Linked DNA regions of Homo sapiens: region 2 is linked to region 1. Evidence: promoter capture Hi-C in human tissues and cell types (Jung and others, 2019). All regions are on one chromosome and are shown on one strand. The core of a region is centred on a gene start or on the middle of the fragment in contact, and the rest is flanking DNA. Distances in the headings are between cores, read along the strand shown. Region 1 holds the start of PAN2 (poly(A) specific ribonuclease subunit PAN2). Region 2 overlaps RAB5B (RAB5B, member RAS oncogene family).

The links. Contacts are between HindIII fragments. The study calls those that stand out against the background at their distance.
Region 2: a contact is called between a fragment that was not itself captured here and the fragment with the promoter of PAN2 in region 1, in 1 of the 25 tissues and cell types used here (liver).

What each region holds. Positions count from the first base shown.
Region 1 is chr12:56,331,315-56,335,899 of GRCh38, forward strand. It overlaps PAN2 (poly(A) specific ribonuclease subunit PAN2), which reads right to left and starts at 2,686. Exons shown (of 26, transcript NM_014871.6): 1 at 2,548-2,686; 2 at 1,499-1,894. The coding sequence starts at 1,780. RefSeq lists enhancers at 2,522-2,691, 2,817-3,036, 2,954-3,123 and cis regulatory regions at 2,591-2,622, 2,607. The HindIII fragment of the contact is 7,233 bases long and covers 1-4,585 here.
Region 2 is chr12:55,985,388-55,990,143 of GRCh38, forward strand. It overlaps RAB5B (RAB5B, member RAS oncogene family), which reads left to right. Exons shown (of 6, transcript NM_002868.4): 2 at 1,482-1,736; 3 at 4,560-4,711. The coding sequence starts at 1,574. Among named protein-coding and RNA genes, the nearest start is that of SUOX, 9.5 kb to the right of the region's middle. The HindIII fragment of the contact is 5,763 bases long and covers 1-4,642 here.

The DNA.
Region 1 (4,585 bases), core at 1,436-3,935:
CTTGGGAATCTTTGTTTATCCTATGCTAAGACGCCTTTTCCCATCTTTCTCACCTGATTTCTACTCATGTTGCAAGACTCAGTTCAAGGGTTACTTCCTCCTCGATGCCCTTTCTGACTATTCTCCATCCTGTCCAGCATCCAGTACAGATTTTCACACTGGCGCTTAGTACCATGAAATTATCTGGTTTTGTATATGTTTTTTACCTCACTGTCCTGTAAACTCCTTGAGGGCAAGGATTATGTTTTATTTAGCTTTATTCACAGTGCCTAGCATAGCAGTAGACACTGCCTATTAAACTGAATGAATCACACACAAAAATTCATCCCTTCTAATGGAAAAACAATTCATGACCAAAGAAGTCAATCAGTAAATGAAGGACAGCGTTTTTTTTTTTTTTGTTTTTTGTTTTTTTTTGAGACGGAGTCTCGCTCTGTCACCCAGGCTGGAGTGCAGTGGCGTGATCTCGGCTCACTGCAACCTCTGCCTCCCAGGTTCAAGCGATTCTCCTGCCTCAGCCTTCCGAGTAGCTGGGACTACAGGCGCCTGCCACCATGCCCAGCTAATTTTTTGCATTTTTAGTAGAGACAGGGTTTCACCATGTTAGCCAGGATGGTCTCGATCTCCTGACCTCGTGATCCGCCTGCCTCAGCCTCCCAAAGTGCTGGGATTACAGGAGTGAGCCACCGGTCCCGGCCGGACAGCACAGTATTTCTTACAAAGTCTTTGGGCACCATAGCATATTGGCAATACGGGTACAGATTTTAAAAAATTAAGATTGATAACTGCTCTGAGAGATATTAAAATCAGCCAGAGAAGACAAAATGATTCAATGGAAGATATGCAGAATCATTCATTAAATATTCTATAATAATAAAAATAGAAAACACAGGTGGGGCAACAGCAATTGAGATTAGATTTGGATGGCTACAGACTAAGTGATGGGTACAACTATCAAGATAAATCAAAACACTGGATGGGCAATTGTGACAAAAGTGGGATGCTGGCCAGGTGCCGTGGCTCACACCTGTAACCCCAGCACTTTGGCAGCTCTATGCAGGAGGACCATTTGAGCTCAGGAGTTTGAGACAAGCCTGGGCAACATAGTAAGACTAAAAAATTTTTTAAAAATTAGCTGGTCTTGGTTGCGCATGCCTGTAGTCCCAGCTACTTGAGATGCTAAAGTGGGAGGATTGTGTGAGCCCAGGAGATTGAGGCTGCAGTGAGCCATGATCACATTACGCCATTGCACTCTGGCCTAGGCGACAGAGCAAGACCCTGTCTCGAAAAAAAAAAAAAAAAAAAGGGATGCCTCCTGAGAAAGAATATGTCATTTACTCCTAGATCCTAGATTCTCCCTTTATCCCTCCAACCAGACCCAGCTGTCTCATCACTACAACTCCTCGGTACTGGCTATCTGCAAAGCAGCTTCCTTGGGTTAAGACCAGATAAAGACCTTCAACATCTTTCAACCCTCACAAAGGGGTACAGTTCTTACCCCGTGGCTCCCCACCCACAGCATCTCCTCGTGCAAGTCAAAGTGGGAGACGGAAACAGGTACACCCACTTCAGCCACCACGCTGTGCAATTCAGAGTAGACACCTTCCATTATGTGCACTGATTCCTGGACGGGAAGAGCCTCCAAGGCCACTCCCTCTGGGTCCAGCTCCACATTCTGTAGCAGACTTGGGTTCAGGTGGGCATCCAAGACAGGGTCCAGGGCAGAATGCATGGCTGGGGCATATTCTGCCAGTCCAGGGTCCAGACCCTCAAAGTTCATGATGACGATGGCAGCTTACACCTGTGTCACACCCTCCCTTACCACAGTCCCTTTAGATGCCTGACCCAACCTTCAGCAAGACAGCACCGATGGGCCTAGAATGGACATCCTGGCCTGTAAGGGGAAAGAGGTAGCTGAGTCAAGGGTAGGCCCAGGTACTGGTACTTAGGGTCTTCTAGGTTATGGGGGCAGGAGGGAGATGAGGCAGGCATGAGGGATGAGACTGCCAGCCAAAGGATGAAGCAGGCGGGGGAGGGATGGGCAGTGGGGGTGGAGGTGGTAGAACTGTTGTCCCTATCCCTCCTCCGCTAGGCCCTCTGTACTCTCCACCACCCCATTATCTAACCTAATCCTTGACTTCCCTTTCTTCTCACTTCGGACTGCTCACTTGCCTTGTTCAGCCCTGAATCATCAGGTGAAGGGAGCGAGAATTGCGGGGGTTGGAGTTAGGTAGAGGGATTTAAGGTGCTTTCTCCCAGAATTGGGGGTGAAAACGGGTGGATTGGACGGTGGGGAGAACGAGAAGTCAGTTTCCTAGAATCCTCTCCAATAGCTACCCAGGATTCTCTAGAGGAAAACAATAATGGCCAGTTACCCACAATTGGGGCGGGGGCAGGGGAAGGTGACGGAAACGGCTAGTTACCCAGAATTCTCTGGGGGAACCAGAAAAATCGGTTATCTAGAATTCTCCCACGGCAGCGGTGAGGAGGGGGATAGGGCAAGGGTCAGATGTGTTCCTGGGATGCTTACGGGGAATGGGTCATTACCAAGATTTCTCCATGGCGGATATTTTGGAGCGCGTGGAATTAGAACGAGTAGGGGGAGCGCAAGCGCTGTCAGCTCCGCGGGAAATTCCAGTTTCCCCAGTTCTCCCCCACGCCTAGGGCTCAACCTAACCACTACGGCGCCAAGGACCGGGGTCCGAGGCGCTTCTTCCAATCAAGAAGGGCTCGGGGCATATTTTAGCCAATCAGAAGGGCTCCGGGCGCATCTAAGCCAATCAGAAGGAGCCAGGTACGGCGACCCCAGGAGAGAGCGTGTGACGCACGCGCCGGAAAAAGAGGTTACGGGGCGCCGGTGGGACAAACGCAGCCAGACGCCGGACTTGTTGGGTGGCGTTAGAAAGTAACTCTGTTTTTAGTCTTCTTGAACAAAATTACGTCTAGGTTTGAAAACCAAACTTTTATGCTTTCTATAACTTTAGGAACTCTAAAATAAGGGACACACAAGGCAAAGCACTAGGAGTCGCTGTTGGGTATTCCCAGCGGGGCTTAGTCTACCTCCTCTTCCTGCGGTGCCCTAGTGAGCCACTCCGCCACCTCTGACCCTGTTGCCCCCAAAACTCGCTGGCATTTCCTATTATTTCCAGATATGGGAGAGAAAAAAAAGGAAGCGGGAGCCGGACTCCTGACACAGTCCAAGTGGCTGCATCTTCTACAGGCATCCATCTGAAACTCCCATCCGTGATTGTTCCCTCCCCAGAGACCCCGGTAACATTCCCGGGTAACAAGATGCCCCTGGTTATCAAATTCCCCTAGCTCTTGAGGCTGGCTGGACGTTATCCCTCAGAGGGGGATGAGCATGGCAAATTGGGACTTGTTATTCTGAAGGATTCGTGGGTCCTGTGAACTCTAATTACTTTGAAATGGGTCTAGGTTGTGAGATGTCTCAGAGCACTTTAGCTCAGCTGTTATTACTGTTTCTAAAGGCCACATAAAGGGACTCTGATGGGAGACATTCCTCATGGAGGATTCAATTCTATAACATTTCTCTCAATAAAGGCTGGTAAATAGACCTTCATTAAAGGAACCAAGAATTTAAATTTCTAGGACTCAGAGGGGTGGGGTCCTATACCCAGTCAGAGATCCTACCTAGAGCCTAGACCAAGAGAAAAACACAGATGGTCTCTCAAACTGATTTGATCTGACTTCGCAGGTCATTAGATATAGAATCTCCGAAAAAGGTGGATGCTGAGAGACATAGACAGTTCCTACACTTTAAGAAATCTCCATCTTGAGGTCTCAAATTGAGAAAGACTTAACAGACCCATGAGAGTTACAGATCCCTAATAACCTGGGCTAAATAATCCATGTCTGCCGGGCGCAGTGGCTCACGCCTGTAATCCCAGCACTTTGGGAGGCCGAGGTGGGCGGATCACCTGAGGTCGGGAGTTCGAGACCAACCTGACCAATATGGAGAAACCCCGTCTCCACTAAAAATACAAAATTAGCCGGGCCTGGTGACGGGAGCCTGTAATCCCAGCTACTTGGGAGGCTGAGGCAGGAGAATCATTTGAACCTGGGAGGCGGAGGTTGCAGTGAGCCGAGATGGCACCATTGCACTCCAGCCTGGTCAGTAAGAGCGAAACTCCGTCTCAAAAAAAAGAAAAAAAAAAAGAAAAGAAAAAAGGATACTGTGAGGAGACACAAGAGCATCCATGACATAGATTATTTAGCTCAGCTGTAATTACTGTTTCTAATACAGTAATATTAGATGGTGATCTGCCTGCCTCGGCCTCCCAAAGTTCTGGGATTACAGGTGTGAGCCACCGCGCCCAGCCTTTTTTTTTTTTTTTTTTTGAGACAGGATCTCACTCTGTTGCCCATGCTTAAGCGCATTGGCCCTCTCACTCACTGTAGCCTCAACCTCCTGGGCTCAAGCGATCCTCCCACTTCAGCCTCCCAACTAGCTGTAACTACAGGCACTGGCCACCAAACCCAGATAATTTTTTTTTTCCTGTAGAGGTGGGGTTTTGCCACGTTACCCAGGCTGGTCTTGAACTCTTAAGCTCAAGCGATCCTCCTG
Region 2 (4,756 bases), core at 511-3,010, 350 kb before region 1:
GAAAAGCGAAAGAGTAATTTGAACAAGCAAAGTACAACTCTCAAGCAATGCTTAGGTTTGGGAGAGAGGTTTTTGCATGCTCTGCCTATGCTAACTTCCCTTTGAATTTCATAGTTCCTTTCCGCTCAGAGTCAGGATGATGAAATGTATTCAGATTTAGACGATTAGAATCTCAAAGTCCCAACTCTTCTCTCTGTTCCCTGCCCCACCAGCAGCTTTCTTAGCCCTCTTAGAAGATAGAGGAGCTGATTCAGTGTATTCTTTCATCAAATACTGATTGCTTGCAGACTTAACGCCCTATACCATCCTCTGGAGACTTCTGCATGTCTTTAGAAGGTATACCTTTCTCTGCCTCTAATTTGGAGGGCTACAGCTGTTAGGCCCCTTTGGTGTGGAGGGTAATCTAATCCCTAGGCACCAGCAAGACAGCTGCAAGTTGAGAGTAGGTCAAGCTTACTGATTCTTGATAGACTTTCAGATTTGGAAAGATGGCAGAAACAAAGTGAAAAAAGAGTTGTTAATGAAACAAAGAGTTGATAATGAATGTGATCTGTTGGTTGTATTTCTCTCTTTACCTTCAACCAAAAATGAGAAAGGATAGATTTTGTGGCAATGGGACCCTGGTTAGATCTTTAGAAATGTCTTATCAGGGAGACCGGTCATATATAAAGGATACAGCAGCAACTACCCTTCTGCCCTTAGGAGTGGTGACTCTTATCCCACACCCCTAGAGTGAATCTCTCATTTTGACAAAGAGCTAAGGAAAAATGAAAAGAAGGCCAGGCACGGTGGCTCATGCCTGTAATATCAGCACTTTGGAAGGCCAAGGCGGGCAGATCACCTGAGGTCAGGACTTCTTAGACTAGTCTGACCAACATGGAGAAACTCCGTCTCTACTAAAAATACAAAATTAGCCAGGCGTGGTGGTGCATGCCTGTAATCCCAGCTACTCGGGAGACTGAGGTGGGAGAATTGCTTGAACCCGGGAGGCAGAGGTTGTGGTGAGCCAAGATTGTGCCATTGCACTCCAGCCTGGGCAACAAGAGTGACGTCTCAAAAAAAAAGAAGAAAAGGAAAAGAAGAGCACAGCACCAGGATGCCAAGGAGATACTGGGGATCTAGGGTACCGGTGGGTGGATCTGGATATTCTTCAGGCCAGCTAAAGGTTGATCACTTTGTGTGACTCAAACAAAAAACTTTGAAGACCTGGTGGGGAATTACTGGGGAATTAAAAACTCTCAGTTTTCAGTCTCTCTATTTCGGCTCCCTTGGCAGTTAGAGATTATGTGGTAGGGCAGACTCCAGAAGCAGTTCTTATTTTGCTCTTCCCAACTCTTACCACTGAGGATCAGCTGCCTGGGACCTTCTCAGAGCTAAGTCCTCATAGAAGCAAGGAGATGAAGAGGTTCTATCCTTCTCTGAAAAGCGATTGCAGCTTCAATGGACGTATGTTTAATTTTATTCACTTTTTTTTCTTGCAGGAGTGTTGAAGCCTGGAAATCCCCTCCCCTTCCCCCTCCCCCCTTTACAGTATCCCCCTCCCTCCACCCTTTCCCATTCTGATAATCTGGCCATGACTAGCAGAAGCACAGCTAGGCCCAATGGGCAACCCCAGGCCAGCAAAATTTGCCAGTTCAAATTGGTCCTGCTGGGAGAATCTGCAGTGGGAAAGTCAAGCCTGGTATTACGTTTTGTCAAAGGGCAGTTCCATGAGTACCAGGAGAGCACCATTGGAGGTGAGTGCCTTGGGGTAATAGGAGATTGAATGTTTGGTAAGGGTTTTTTTTTTTTTAGATGGAGTCTTGCTCTGTTACCCAGGCTGGAGTGCAGTGGCGCAATCTTGGCTTACTGCAACCTCTGTCTCCCAGGTTCGAGCGATTCTCATGCCTCAGCCTCCCGAGTAACTGGGATTACAGGTGCACACCGTGGCACCTGTCTAATTTTTGTATTTTTAGTGGAGAGGGGGTTTCACCATCATGTTGGCCAGGTTGGTCTCAAACTCCTGACCTCAGGTGATCTGCCTGCCTCGGCCTCCCAAAGTGCTGGGATTACAGGCGTGAGTCACCACGCCGGGCCGGTAAGGCTTTTGAAAAGAGATATAAGACCTGATTATGGAGCTGGCCCTCTTAGTCCCATTCTTTTCCCCAGAAATGGAAACCCTTTATAAAAACAGAGGCCGGTCCCAGTGGCCCACCACTTTGGGAGGCCAAGATGGGCGGATCACCTGAGGTCAGGAGTTCGAGACCAGCCTGCCCAACATGGCGAAATCCTGTCTCTACTAAAAATACAAAAAATTAGCCAGGCGTGGTGGCAGGCGCCTGTAATCCCAGCTACTCGGGAGGCTAAGGCAGGAGAATCACTTGAACCCAGGGGGCAGAGGTTGTAGTGAGCCGAGATTGCGCCACTGCACTCCACCCTGGGCGACAAGAGCAAAACTCCATCTCCAAAAAAAAAAAAAAATCAAAATCTGGTAAAATAGGCTGGGCATGGTGGGTCACACCTGTAATCCCAGCATTTGGGAGGCCAAGGCAGGCGGATCACTTGAGGCCAGGAGTTCAAGACCAGCCTGGCCAACAAGGTGAAATCCCCGTCTCTACTAAAAATACAAAAAATTAGCTGGGCGTGGTGGCACATGCCTATAATTCCAGCTACTCAGGAGGCTGAGGTAGGAGAACTACTTGAACCCAGGAGATGGAGGTTGCAGTGAGCCAAGATTGCGCCATTGCACTCCAGCCTGGGTGACTAGAGTGAAAATCCGTCTCAAAAAAACAAAACAACAACAACAACAACAAAGATTAGCCGGGCATGGTGGCACATGCCTGTAATCCCAGCTACTTGGGAAGCTGAGGCAGGAGACTCGCTTGAACTCATGAGGCGGAGGTTGCAGTGAGCCAAAATCACGCCAGTGCATTTTATCCTAGGCGAAGGAGCGAGACTGTTTCAAAAACAAAAAAAAATCTGGTAAAATAGAGGCTGGAACTAATGCAAAATACAAAGGGTGTCTGTCTTTCTCATCTTTGCTACCTTTTCCCCACTACTACCCCAAAATAGGGTGCTAATTCAATAAAGGATCTTTTATGAGAACTTCCAAATTATTCCTTCCCCTTGTTATTTTTATTTATTTATTTATTTATTTTTGAGACGGAGTCTCTGTCGCCCAGACTGGAGTGCAGTGGTGCAATCTTGGCTCATTGCAACTTCTGCCTCCCAGGTTCAAGTGATTCTCGTGCCTCAGCCTCCTGAGCAGCGGAGATTACAGGCACATACCACCATGCCCGGCTAATTTTTGTATTTGTATAGAGACAGGGTTTCACCGTGTTGGCCAGGCTGGTCTCAAACTCCTGACTTCAAGTGATCCACCCGCCTCGGCCTCCCAAAGTGCTGGGATTACAAGCATGAGCCACCGTGCCTGGCCTCTTTCCCCTTTTTATTAGTCATCTTGGAAATGTATTCCTGGACCTGCAGCAGATTATATGAAAAAGTAACAGCCAAATAATATTGATAATGATGGGACTTGCCATCAAGCTTTAAAATCTTCTAATTAATTCTTTTTTTTTTTTTTTTTTTTTTTGGATACTGAGTCTCACCCTGTTGCCCAGGCTGGAGTGCAGTGGTGCAGTGGTTGCCCATTGCAACTTCCGCTTCCCCAGTTCAAGCACTTCTGCTGCCTCAGCCTCCCAAGTAGCTGGAATTACAGGCGTCCATCACCATGCCTGGTTAACTTTTGTGTTTTTAGTAGAGGCGGGGTTTCACTATGTTGGCCAGGCTGGTCTCGAACTCCTGACCTCAAGCCATCCACCTGCCTTGGCCTCCCAAAGTGCTGGGATTACAGGCATGAGCCACTGCGCCCAGCCAATCCTCTAATTAATTCTTTTGTTTGTTTGCGTTTGTTTGTTTGTTTTTTGAGACGGAGTTCCGCTCTTGTTGCCCAGGCTGAAGTGCAGTGGCGCCATCTTGGCTCACTGCAACCTCCACCTCCCAAGTTCAAGGGATTCTCCAGCCTCAGCCTCCCGAGTAGCTGTGATTACAGGTGTCCACCACCACGCCTGGCTAATTTTTGTATTTTTAGTAGAGACGGGTTTTGCCGTGTTGGCCAGACTGGTCTCGAACTCCTGACCTCAGGTGATCCACCTGCCTCAGCCCCCACCTCCCAAAGTGCTGGGATTACAGGCGTGAGCTACCGTGCCCAGCCCAATCTTCTAATTAATTCTTGATGTGACTTTTATCTGAAGCTATTTTCTCTGTCATTTGTTATTCTCCTATTTTGGTTAGAAGAAGGATGACTCGTATAAGTGCCAGTTCTTCTGTCCCTCTTAGTTTATGATGTACCCCCATTCCTTAGCTAGTGACATTTCTGGCAGGAAGGACTTAGCCAAGGGCAGTCTTAATCCTGGTTTCAAGACTTACATGTAAGGAGAACTCAAAACCTTTTCCTGTAGCTGACTATCCTGGGTGGTGACTGGTCTTAGTGTAGGGCAGTTACATTTTGAAGGGGGGGAGGGATGTTCCCATTCATCCTCCCACTTACAGCATCTTCCCCTCCATTCTCTCATCCATAGCGGCCTTCCTCACCCAGTCCGTTTGTCTAGATGACACAACAGTGAAGTTTGAGATCTGGGACACAGCTGGGCAGGAGCGATATCACAGCTTAGCCCCCATGTACTACAGGGGTGCCCAAGCTGCAATCGTGGTTTACGACATTACTAATCAGGTAAGTGAGCTAAGAAGACTGTCCTTGTTGGCTGGACATGGTGGC